Linked DNA regions of Homo sapiens: region 1 is linked to region 2. Evidence: promoter capture Hi-C in human tissues and cell types (Jung and others, 2019). All regions are on one chromosome and are shown on one strand. The core of a region is centred on a gene start or on the middle of the fragment in contact, and the rest is flanking DNA. Distances in the headings are between cores, read along the strand shown.

Evidence for each region. Contacts are between HindIII fragments. The study calls those that stand out against the background at their distance.
Region 1: a contact is called between a fragment that was not itself captured here and the fragment with the promoter of EML5 in region 2, in 2 of the 25 tissues and cell types used here (aorta and heart left ventricle).

Annotation. Positions count from the first base shown.
Region 1 is chr14:88,913,627-88,920,206 of GRCh38, forward strand. No RefSeq gene overlaps it. Among named protein-coding and RNA genes, the nearest start is that of TRA-AGC15-1, 62 kb to the right of the region's middle. The HindIII fragment of the contact is 4,961 bases long and covers 1,420-6,380 here.
Region 2 is chr14:88,789,362-88,796,072 of GRCh38, forward strand. It overlaps EML5 (EMAP like 5), which reads right to left and starts at 3,592. Exons shown (of 44, transcript NM_183387.3): 1 at 2,946-3,592. The coding sequence starts at 3,142. RefSeq lists silencers at 3,103-3,182, 3,373-3,732. The HindIII fragment of the contact is 27,448 bases long and covers 1-6,711 here.

The DNA of each region.
Region 1 (6,580 bases), core at 2,650-5,149, 120 kb after region 2:
TAAGAAGAAAACCAAGAGAGGAAGTGGAGGGCTGGAGGTCCAGTGAAGTGTGTTTCAAGAAGGAAGGTGCTCAACAGGGTCACATGAATCTGTTGATAGGGTTCGAGGAGAACTTAAATTTGACCATTGGATATAGAGCTCTTTCACTGGAGTGTTAGGCATGAAAAGCTTATGTGAGAGGATCAAGAAAAACCAAAAAGAGAGATGTTGAGCCCGTAAAACTAGATAACCAACCCTTTCAAGGTATTTTTCTGTAAAAGGGAGGGAGGGATTGGCAGCACCTGGATTGTAGACGTTAGGTCAAAGGAGGTTTTTATTTCTGTGTTTTGATTGTGTTTTGTTTCTAGATAGGCAGTGTACGACGTGTTTATATGCTGATAGAAATGATCCAGCAGAGAGGGGGCATGGAGCAGGCTCACTAATCATCAATCTCAAGAGAGACTCCCACTGAGTATAGAATTGCAGAGAATGTCATTATGCCAAGCACCAGAAACCAGGAGTCCATGTACTTATGCCCGAGACATCCTAGGCTACTGTTAAGTCCACCTCATACTGGTTATCTATTTGTCTGAGTCCAGTGAGACAGAACATACACACAAGTTATGTAAAGCAGGTTTATTTTTTATAGATAACAGTAAGGGACAGAAGTCTTGGATCCATTGTGAGCTCATCCCTCAAGGCTCAAGAAAACTGCCCAAGGTGAACGTGGTCTTGACTGCCTGTGTCCCATTTTGTATCACAGCTGAGGACCCTCAAAAGGCAGCCTGCCCTGGGTTTCATACCCTGGGAGAAACAGGACTCCCTGGGCAAAGCTTTGAAGGACATCTTCCTTCTGGGGGAGAGAGGAATAAAGCCTGAGCTTTTTCTCAGGATATTGCATTCCAGCACATTCTACTCTTATTCTTGAGACTACATGCAAAAAAGGGGGAGGGAAAATTGGGTTGGTTCAAGGTCACTCAGAGAACTGTCTTGCAGGGGAGAAACTTGGCGATGCAAGCAAGAGAGGGTTATCGCAGAAGGTAAGAGGGGAAGGCTTCCAGTGTTGGGTTTGGTTTTAAATAGAAGTGTAGACAGCTCTGCCCATAGCAACAGGATGAAAGACAAGAGTATAAAGATATAGGCACTGCTACCCGGAAAGATGTCTCCTTGGGGGCAGGTGACATTCTTCTAATTGCTCCTATTGTTCCAGTGAAATAAGGCCATCAGCTGAGAGTGAGGAGAAGGGAGGAGATACCACAAAACATGGGCTGCAGCTTGGACCCCTGCCCCATATTTTTAAACCCAGCCTATCTGGCTTGAAATTTCTAGTCAAGATGCTGCATTTGGATCTACCTTTAAGCCGTCCACCTTGTAAAGGCATTTTTTCCCTCATATAGCCCTAAACACCTCTTTACAAGCAAGGTGATTTACCCGAGTTGGCTGTCCTACTTAATCAAGCTATTAAAGCCCAAACTGCAGTGTGAAAAAGGTGCAGGCTCAATTTAGGTGCCAAGTCATTACAAAATTGGCCCTTATGAACTATAATTAGGCAAGAGAGCCCACAGCTGATCCAGATGGCATTAAGGAACAGAAGAATGAGTCAAGGGCCAAGGGGACAGGTGTACCATCCACGGAGGCTTTCCTCACACAAATGCTTCTTTTCCTTCTTTTCCTATCTTCTCCGCTGGTGGCAGCAGCCTCTCTCATTGTGGCCTCTCCACTAAAGCCTTAGGGTGCAGGGGTGGAAGGGTTAGGGCAGAACCTAACATCCAGTGTTGCCGTGAGTGGGGTGAGCCTGGGGCCCTGTTGAAACCCAGGCTAAATCATAGTGGGAGCCTCTCCTACCCCACCTCCCTCACCACTTCTAGGATTTTCATCCAAAGCAAAAGAGGCTTCACTGAATGTCAAGTCAGACTTGAGAAGAAACAGAAAAGAGAAGTGCAAAAATGATAGGAGGGAGGCAAGAGTCTCTTATGAGGCAGTGCCCACAGCTATAGTGTAGAGCTGGCTCAAGCCACAGCCAACAGAAAATAGGAGCTGAAGAGAAGCTTGCCCAGGGGGGCTGCCTTAGCCAGAGCTTCTTGCAAATCCCCCAAATGATTTTCACATCCTTGCATTTAACTCCTCCATCTCCCCCACCCCCGCTCTGAGCAGAGGTGACTGTAAACTAGTTTTTGTTCCATACTTCTAGAGTGTTACCACGGTGGTTGCAGTCCACTAAGGGCAGTTGTGAGATACCGGAAGTCAAACCCAGTTTTCCCTTATCACCTCTTTATGTCACTGATTTTCAATTTAACAGTTACAGAGAAAAATGAATTTGGCTGGTTTCACGATAAACCAAAGAAAGCACACCTGAAGGCAGGTGAGTATCAGGTGCTGTCTGTAGGTTTCCTATCAATGAATGGAGTGGAGGGATGTGGTTCATTCTTATTTTCTCCCTGACGTCTCTCCCGGCCCAGAGGACCACTCTGTTTTAAGCCATGGGATGATGTTCTTTGACTTGCCAGAGTGGCTGCTTCTCCTCTGTCTTGCAAGGGAGGGTCCCCCTCAGAGGAGTGAGACAGCTTTCAGACCCCACAGTAGAAAACAAAGAGGAAGAAGCATCTGGGGCTACAAAATGAAACAGAGTCCTCTCAATAAGCTCTAAATGACACTGGGCACCATGTCATCTCTACATGTTCTCTACACCCAGTGGTGTGCTACCACACGTTTAACAGTTGGTTCTCTGGGGAAAAAAAAAGACCTAGTTTGTAGCATATGCCAATTTCTATGGTGTAAATACTACCACTCAGATGAATTTCAAGCTTTCTAATATGAGGTCACTGAACACAAAGTTGGGAAGATAAAAGCACCACTGGCTTTTGTGAGCTGGTGATTACCACCAATGTTTCATGGTCAACAACGTGAGGGCAGGTGTACTTCATCTCGAATGAAAGCTGCGGTAGAACTCAAAGAAGTAAAAGGTATAGAAGTAACAGGCATGCAAGGCTTGAGGAACTGGGCAGAGATTAATTTCTCTGCAAAATGAGAATATTGGGAAGATCTCTTCGGTGACCCAAAACAGAGAGACTTAGGAAGAAGTATCAGACAGGGCGTTTTGGGGGTTGGGAGTGGAAAGCAGGTAAAAATCCTATTTGACATGTATTAATTGTGTAATTTTAAAAGGAAAAAGAAAAACAATATTAAACAGTATTCTGGGCTATGCAATGTAGACTTCCCTGTAGCATCCTTTAAGAAATCTTCAGTAAAATCTTCAGACTAATTCTTCACTTATGGTTATTTGAGTGGCTTTTGCTTCAGGGGCTGTGAGGAAGTGATGAATTCTGCTGTGAGGCTGTTGTAGGATAAAGCTGAGTCTGCTTATGAGAGAGCTGCTGTATCCAAGACCATTTAGTTACAATCTCTTATTTATTCAAATCAGAAGGTAAGCTCCACAAGGGCAAGGACTTTGTTTTGCTCACTGCTATCTCATTAGTGTCTAGAAATATACGTGGAAGATTGTGATAGCTAATCTTGAGTGTCAACTTCATTGAAGAATACAAAGTACTGTTCCTGGATGTGTCTGTGAGGGTGTTGCCAAAGGAGATTAACATTTGAGTCAGTGAACTGGGAAGGGCAGACTGACCCTCAATCCTGGTGGGCATAATTTAATCAGCTGCCAGTGCGGCCATAATAAAAGCAGGCAGGAATCAGGGAAAGACTAGACTAGTTTAGTCTTCTGGCCTCCGTCTTTCTCCCGTGATGGATGTTTCCTGCCCTTGAACATCAGACTCCAGGTTCTTCAGCTTTGAACTCTTAGACTTATACCAGTGGTTTGCCAGGGCCTCTTGGGTCTTAGGCCACAGACTGAAGGCTGCACAGTCTGCTTCCCTACTTTTGAGGTTTTGGGACTCGGACTGGCTTCCTGGCTTCTCAGCTTGCAGATGGCCTATTGTGGGACTTCACCTTGTGATCATGTGAGCCAATTCTCCTAATAAACTCCCCTTCATATATACATCTATCCTATTAGTTCTGTGCCTCTAGAGAACCCTGACAAATACAAAGACGATCAGTAAACACTGTTTGAATGTTATCGAATAGCTTTTTAAACATCACCATGGTGCTTAACACAGCACAGTCCAGTGGAACTTTCTGCAGTGGTGGAAATGTTCTATGTCTGTGTTGTCCAATGTAGTGGTAGCCACTAGTCACAGGTGGCTGTGGACATCTAAACATTTGGCTACTGCAATTAACAAACTGGATTTTAAATTTTATTTCATTTTAATTAATTTAAACTTAAATGAACACCTGTGGCCAGCATCTACCACACTGGACAACACAGTAATCACTTTGCTACTCCAGTTATGGTCTATGGCCTAGCAGCATTGGCATCATCTGGGAGCTTGTTAGAAACTCAGAATTTCAGGCTCCACCACTGAGCTACAAAGCCAGAACCTGTATCCCATTCCCACACGGTCATACACACGTCAAAGTCTGAAATGCTCTGCTCTAACAAACGTCGGCACTTTCACCTACTTTATTTTGTGTGATCCTCATTAAAAAATCTACATTGAGGATATCATTCTTCCCGTTTTATTTATTTTATTTTTATTTATTTATTTTGAAACAGAGTTTTGCTCTTGTTGCCCAGGCTGGAGTGCAATGGTGTGATCTCGGCTCGCTGCAACCTCCACCTCCTGGGTTCAAGAGGTTCTCCTGCCTCAGCCTTCTGATTAGCTGGGATTACAGGCACTTGCCACCACGCCCAGCTAATTTTTTTTTTTTTTTTTTTTGTATTTTTAGTAGAGATGGGGTTTCGCCATTTTGGCCAGGCTGATCTCGTACTCCTGACCTCAAGTGATCCACCCGCCTTGGCCTCCCAAAATGCTGAGATTACAGGCGTGAGCCACTGCACCCGGCCTTTTCTTCCTATTTTATAGATAAGGTAATTGAACTTCTGATTATGTGATTTTCTTAAGACCACAAAGTGGAAAGGAGAGACGGGGTCGGCAAGCCCAGCATTTCATCTGTTCTGTTCTCTCTCTGTATGCTGGGGTAGAAGATAGCAGGCTAGATCTGAGCAATTTCAGCACCATTTATTCCAGGACTGTTTTAAAATGGAATAAGATCACAGCACTTTACTGCCAGCAACATGAGCTATCGATGTAAGTGATAGTGTAGATGGGTTGTGAAATGGAATAGTTTTGTGGGGCAGGTAGAGAATTAGCTTCCCATCTCTTCCTCAAGTATAATTGAGTGAGTAGGAATGAAGGCATGGCCTCAATGTAATGGCAGGCTTGCTTTTAGCCAGAAAAACTGGTCCTTTTGTTGTTCGGGATCTACTTATATGCATACAAGTTCTAGCTGCTTTTCATTTGTTTGTTATTGCATCATATAAAAGGGTTGGGGAGATTTTTAACAATATGGAGATTAAATTTGACTGGCTTAATGAACAATTCCCTTCGAGAAGTCCCAGGGGTGAGGATGTGGTTCCCTCTATAATGACTGAAGATGAGATACAATGACAGAGAAATGAACGGTGGCTTTCAACATGAACCCCAAATCAAAAAAAGGTCACAAGGACTCAGACTACAAATTATAAGACCTGGTTTGCTCTCCAGCACCCTTCCGTGGAGACATCTGTTTATAGCAAGCTCCAGATTCATATTGAATAAATTAATACATGTATTTAATTATGGCAAATGAATCCCTCAAGCAACGTTAAGAAGTCTGCAATGAGTATGTGCTGTTCAGTCACCAAGTTTTCACTGGGGACACTTTCTTCCCCAGAGCAACCTGTTCCTAGCCAGCCTACACTATTTCATTGGCCCTACCCTTGTAGAATTAAAACTCTCAAGTGAAAGGACTTGTTACCAAAAATAATGATATCAGTTCAAGTTAGGTGTATGTACTCCTGGTTTGCAAACCAGCAGTGAGAAAGAACAAGCAAAGGAACAAATAGGTAAACAAAGACAGAAGGAAAAGCAAAATAATAGATTCAGAGTTATCAACAAAGCCGTGAAATAACAGGCCTCACCTCCTCCTGGCCCAGCTACCCTGTGACCTCTGTTCTCCGGCAGGGAGAGCAGTTACTCTTCCACCCGGGCACCTGAGCTGGCATTCCTGCCATTGCAGTCACTCTTGGTTCATCTCTGAAGGCATGCTTGCATTCTTGACTCATTCCTCTCTCTCACCCTTCACATTGAATTGATCATCAAATCTGGTCTTGTTTTTTAAGGGTATACAAACAATAAAACTTTATTCCACCATAAAAAGGAATGAAAGTTTGATACAAGTTGCAACATTGACAAACCTTAAACACATTGCAAGTGAATTATGACAGAAATTAACAGGACAAATATGTATGATTCTACTTCTACAGAATATTTAGAATAGGAAAAATGAATTGAGACAGACAATAGATTGAAGGGAGCAGGTACTGGGGTGGTGGTGGAAATGTGGGTTATTGCTTAATAGATGCAGAGTTTGTATTTGGAATGATGAAAGAAATTGCATATTGTGGTTATGGTTTAATGACATTGTAAACATAATTAATGCCATGGAATGGTCCACGTAAAATGGTTGAAATAAAAAAAATTTATGTGAAAACTTTAATCAATAT
Region 2 (6,711 bases), core at 2,342-4,841:
ACTAAGATAAATATAACTAAAAGATAAATGACTAGAGAAGTATACACAAGTAGATGGCAAAAAGAAGATGGAGAACTACAAGCAACACTGAGAAAATGATGAAATGTCATGTGGCACCACCACTGGCAATCCCAGGTGATAATAAAATGGTCAAAGAACCAGTAAGCAAATGATAGACTAGTCATGATTCAGCCTTTACTGAGAAAATGATGAAATGTCATGTGGCACCACCACTGGCAATCCCAGGTGATAATAAAATGGTCAAAGAACCAGTAAGCAAATGATAGACTAGTCATGATTCAGCCTTTACTGAGAAAATGATGAAATGTCATGTGGCACCACCACTGGCAATCCCAGGTGATAATAAAATGGTCAAAGAACCAGTAAGCAAATGATAGACTAGTCATGATTCAGCCTTTACCACCAACATTGCACTCACATTTTCAAAACCTGAGGACAATGATCTGCTCATTCTGGAACAGTTCTATCCTCAGACTAAGTAATATTTGACCAATAAGTTTTACATAAGTTTCAGGCAAAGGTGGAAACAAAACAGATGATGAAAACAGCACTGACTTTTTATTACTAAAGCTAAGGTTACAGCAACATTGGTTTTCACTATGCATCACATTTGTGAATATTACATCTTCTGCTGTGGCATAATTTAAAAATTACTAGAGTTGTTTCTATACTCACAAGTCAAACACTGAACTGAAAAAATATTGAGGTTTTAATATTAGCTCAATATATTTCACAAACATGAATGATCTGTCATTACTATTTGAAATAAAATGTCCAGAGCCCTTTCACTGATTCCTAAATTATATTCTCAGTATCATATTAAATTTGTGCCACCAATTTCAAGATGCTGTATGATTCAGATTTTACTCCCTCATTGAAACTTTTCAGGAAACTTATTTTCATTGTTATACATTAAAGATGTGTCATTTGGATAAAATCATAAGCATGTATATTCAACGATGAGAAATTCGAGTATGTTTGTTGTTTTGTATAAGTTGTGCAACTATACCAAAAGAAAGTCAAAGCATTACCTTCCTTACAGTTTACTGAAACACAATTATGAAATTTAAGCGGTGTGACATATAACACAGCTTCTAATTACTGCTAGAAGAACAAGATGTAATTTACCTCACCAAATAAATCATATCTAGTTTCAGAAGACCTTAGTGCTATACTGCTCTCATAACCCCCAAGGAGTAAAAACAATACAAGTGTACCACGAGAAGACCTCAAAATCCTTCACATTTACTCCACCAGCTGAATTCAACCTAACAGACTAAATTATCTGGAGCAGGGCTTCAGTTAAGGCTGCTCCAGCTAGGTAAAGCTACTATGCCTGGTACTTTGGGAGACCTAGCATATGGAAAAGAAGGGAGACTTGAAAGGATTAGGGAAAAAGACAAGACACTGGGGTAAACTCTACTCTTGGGATAACTAAGAAGATAAATAATTACTACGGGTTTACTTTAGTTTTGTTTTTCCATCAGCAATTTGGGCTATTATAATAGGTCTGTAACCCTAATCACCACGATACAGAGTCCCAGCTTGAGAAAAATGAAATGACTTATCAGTTACCTTTTCAAAGTAATACATTAAATACAATCTGAAAAAGCACTCTGGTGTCCAAAAAACAAAAACAAACAAAAAAAACCAACTGAATACAGAGCACCACCTCATTCCTTACTCTGCAATCTCAATTTTGTCTTTTCTTATCTTTACTCCATCTTGCCCTACCTCTGTTTGTCCTAGGCATCCTTTCCCTCTTACATATTATAGATGTACAGAGACGCAAAACAGAAGAACAACTTTATTTGTGGAATTTACATACCAGGGCTTCTTGCCTACAAGACTTCAAACCAAGGTACCGTATTTGAAATGCCCAATTTAAATCCTGTGCAACATACATGAGGGAATAACATTTTGTAACCAAACCCAAATCGTAGAATCTTTGATAAAACCCCAAGAGCACCACACAAACACATTCTCAATTGCTTTTAATATATTTTCCTCTGTAAAGGACAAAAAATGCTGTGCTTGAGGCAATAATCAGTGGCCTAGAATGATTTCTGAAGCTCTTGACTTTACCATAAAAGTTGTACTAAGACACTGATTGAAAATTACATTTCAAATATACCGCTCACTAAAGAAATGTCAACAAGCTCTGGGACCAACTTTGAGTTATTGTCCAAGGAAGACTAAAAATAGCCCCCCAATAGCGATTTAATTTTAAGAAAATACAAAAGTAGCTTATTTAGGAGTATTTTAATGAAGATGAAGAGAACTGGAAATCAGTGAAGTTTTCAGCAGCCTCTTCAGATAAGACCTACCTTAAATTGCCTTCAGGTGTGCACATTTTAACATCCAGTGAATTGCCTGGAGGTTGCCTGGGGTTTCTGCTGATTATAGCAGGCGGTGAAACCTGAACTAATAATTACGGCCAGGAGGTGAGAGCCCTTCAGGACGCCACCCTGGGCGCGCTCCCCGGGAGCAGCCCACCGCTTGCTGTGCTTCCATCAGTCCTTTATTAGGTAAAGGGTTTCCCCCCACCCCGGGTGCTTTAAGAATGCGTTTAATAAGAAATTTCTCACAGGATCTAACGGAATAAAGTGCCACCAAAATAACCTTTTCGCAGTTTTCGTAATTGTGATGGAGTGGGAAAGGGGACAAAGCCGTCAAACCGGGTGCCCGGTGGATCCGCGGACCTGATCTTCCTGCACGGACCCGAGAGAGAGTCCCTAGACGAGGAAGAGGGGAAAGGCATTTGTAGGGTGTTAACTGGTGGACTCGGGACCAGAGAGACAGCTGCGGATTCCCCTCGGGGTGATGCTCCGTGCAGGAGCGGTCACGGCGTCCAGAGGAACCCGCGGGTGCAAACTCCGGGAGCGGCTTGCAGGGTGACGGCGGCGGCCCCCGCTCCCCGGTACCTGATGATGTCGTCGCTGTGGCCCCGGTAGAACTTCTGCCTGTGCTCCCGCGGGCTGTACACCACGCCGACCCCCGCCACGAAGTATACGATCTCCTTGGCCGCAGTGTAGTAGAGGTTGTTGCGGCACTGGTGGCCCCGGTAGCCGTACACCCACTCGAGCCGCAGGTGGCAGCTCGGGGCGCTCCGGGCCGCCATGTCGGGGCGCCCACCCGCCGCTCCCGCTCGGGCCCGCGGCGGCGACGGGAGGCGGCGGCGGCCCGGCAACGAAAGCCCTCCCGCTGGCTGCCGGGACTTCCCGCCAGCCGCGTCCTCTAAGCCGCGCCCGTCAGGTGCATCTCGTTTCGGGGGCCGCCGCCGCCTCAGCCCACAGGCGGGAGGAAAACCCTCGCCTCGCGGAACATGCTGAGGGCCGCGAGCGCCGCCGGCTGTCAAGTGGATGCCCAGAGCCCTTCGCCCGCCTCGGCTCGCCTAGTCTCCTCAGCCCGTAGCGCCTGGGCCGAGAGCGAGGGCCCGCCTCCAGCTCCTCAGCCGCCGCCCGCGCACGCAGCTCCCAGCCCCGGTCACCTGCGGCGCTCGCGCCCCGCCGCGGCTTTGTAGCCACAGCCTGGCGGACCCGCGCCGCGCACCCCGAAACCGAGCGAGCCGAGCCGAGCCGAGCCGAGCGGCGGGCGCGCGGCCTTGCGTGGCCCCGCCCCCTCCCGCGCTCACTCCGCCCCTCCCGGAGCCGAGAAGAGGCTGGAGTTCGCGGGGCCACGGTCTAGTTGCGGAGTCGCTGGGACCGCGTCTCTGCAAGTGCGCGGGCCGGTGAGCCCTCCCTCGTTGAGCTGCTTAAGCCCAGGCGGACCCTCGGCGACCCCGGGCTCCCGCTGCTTTGCGTCCTCAACCGGGAAGCACCTGCCGGTTCCGCACGGTCCCTGCACCCAGCGTAGGCCACGTTTTTGCCTGGGAAAATCCACACCGGGATGCTAAATTCTCTTTTTTACGCTTGATACCTTGTGTGTCTTGCTGCCTTATAGTGCTTTCGGACCCAGACATTGGAATGATGCCGAGCTTCCTAAATGTGCTTTTAAATTATTATTTTTAGAAACAGAGCCTCGCTCTGTCGCCCAGGCTGGAGTGGAGTGGCGCAGTCTCAGCTCACTGTAGCCTCCAACTCCTGGGCTCCAGCGATCCTCCCGCCTCAGTCTCCGGAGTAGTAAGGAGTACAGTTGCGTACCACTATGCCCGGCAAATGTTTTGCTTTGTTTTTAAGTTTATTTTGTAGAGGCGGGGGTCTTGCTGTGTTGCCCAGGCTGGTCTCCACCTCCTGACCTTCAGCAGTTCTTCTGCCTCAGGCCTCCCAAAGCGCTGGGATTACAGGCCCAATCCACTGCTCCTGGTCCTAAGTGTATGTTTTCTTAAGTGACCGCAAAGCTGAAGGTAGACTTTAGATGGTAAACTGACATGTGAGATCTGATTTCCGAATAGCAAAAAAAAAAAAAATTGTACTTCGATTTTTTTAAAAATGACTGGGACATCACCAACAGTTACTCTTAATTAAATAAATTCAATTGTGATCCTGTAGAAAACTCCTGTAATAAAAGTATTGGGAACAATCAATTCCTGACTATGTCATTTCCCCTCCTACTCAGTTGTGTCCTCTTCTCACAGGAATATGAACAAGATTTATCAATACCTCTAAAAATAATTGGAAATCCACAATTTAAAAAGTGTTAAGTTCAGGATGGCCACAAGATTTACAACAAAAAAATACTAATTCAGGATATACCAATATGAACCCTTATTGTCTAAAAATTACTGTTTGATTTCCATAGGAAATACCAAGACAGAAATCTGACAAAAGCTAAAATAAACTACCATCGTTTCAAGAAATATGACTCCAAAAGGGGTTGACTCCTGTGTGGTACAGATATATTGGAATAGATGTTATCCAATGTCTACTTCCTCAAAGATGCCAGTTACTAACTTGAGACAGGATTACCGTTTCGTCTTTGATTATGACTTCTAATCTGCAAGCAGTTTACATGCAGGAAATAAAGGCCATCTGAAAGGAATTTACATAGATGTCATGAAAAGTAAACTCTGAAAGAGTTTCCATTCTGGGCAGAATCTGAAAAAGAGGAATAGCTTTCTGGCAGCTGCTGCAAATAAACAAAGAAATCAGGCCTGAGAAGTGGCTCTAAGGCCCATGTAGGGTACCCTGGGCAAAAGCACACACAGTTTCTCTTTGTCACCAGGAGGGCGTTTTCTGTTTTTTAATAAGAATATGTTCTAATTCACTAGTGAGTTCCTTGAAATCCCCTGGTGAGAAAAAGAAAAATTGTTGATTATTTAAATTCAAGCAGTGAACTTAGAAAACATTAAATATTTGTTGCTATACATTTGTGATATATTAATTACTGGTTACATGTAAATTTTATGAGACGAGATGGAAGAATATAGTTTTTTCTATGTTTCGGATTTTTCAGCACAATATCTTATGGATCCCATGATACACACTTAAGTACTCAGATTAATAAGAGATTTAAGTAATTTATTTTCCCATTATCATATTTTCCATTACGATTTTAATGACCCAAGTGTAGAGTGCGAAGCAAAAACATTCTTAATTAAACCATCCTCAACTGGCGACTCAAGACCAAAAGAGACAGCCGAGGCACAAAGGTGGCTAGAAAATGAACCATTCATGAATACTAGAGGAAGAAAAAAACAAACCTGATCAGTTCTTACCCTCACAACTTTATATAATCCAGTATTACCAATGTCACATCAGAAAGCTTAATGAAGCTTCTATTGCTAGGTGATATTCCATCATCTGTATCCTGTGAAAGTAATGCAAATAAGGATGTGGGAGAAAGAAACAAAAAATTATACACATCAACAAATGGACATTTGTTAAGCATTCCAGACGAAGGCTGCAATACCCCCTGTATTCGTCCGTTCTCATGCTGCTAATAAAGACATACCTGAGACTGGGTAATTTATAAAGAAAAGAGGTTTAATTGACTCACAGTTCCGCATTGCTAAGGAGGCCTCACAATCATGGTGGAAGGCAAAGAGGAGCAAAGTCGCACATGGCAGCAGACAAGAAGAATTTGCGCAGGGGAGCTCCATTTATAAAACCATCAGATCTCATGAGACTTATTCACTACCACTAGAACAGTATGGGGGAAACCACCCCCACGATTCAATTATCCCCACCTGGCACCACCCTTGACATGTGGGGATTATTACAATTCAAGGTGATATTTGGGTGGGATACAGCCAAACCATATCACCCCCTTTGGTAATCTAGTTCCTGAAACTTGAGTTCCTAGTATGGAATTTGAGATATTTGAAATATTTCTAAAATTCAGGCAAATAAATCATGTGCTGGCTACTGATTAGGTACCCTTAGGTTTATAAAGAAATCTAAGGCAAAATGTAGAAAACATAAAAACCAAAATTCCCCAGCCTGGCCAATATGGCAAAACCCCATCTCTACTAAAAATACAAAAAAAAGTAGCCGGGTGTGGTGGTGCAGGCCACCATCTCAGAAAAAAAAAAAAAAAATTCATGCAATTACTTCTAGCTAGCATGGTGGCTCTCACCTCTAATCCCGGCACTTTGGGAGGCCAAGGTGGGTGGTCAGGAGTTTGAGACCAGCCTGGCCAACATGGTGAAACTCCATGTCTAGTAAAAACACAAAAATTTGCCAGGCATGGTGGCGGGCGCCTGTAATCCCAGCTACTCGGGAGGCTGAGACAGGAGAATCGCTTGAATCC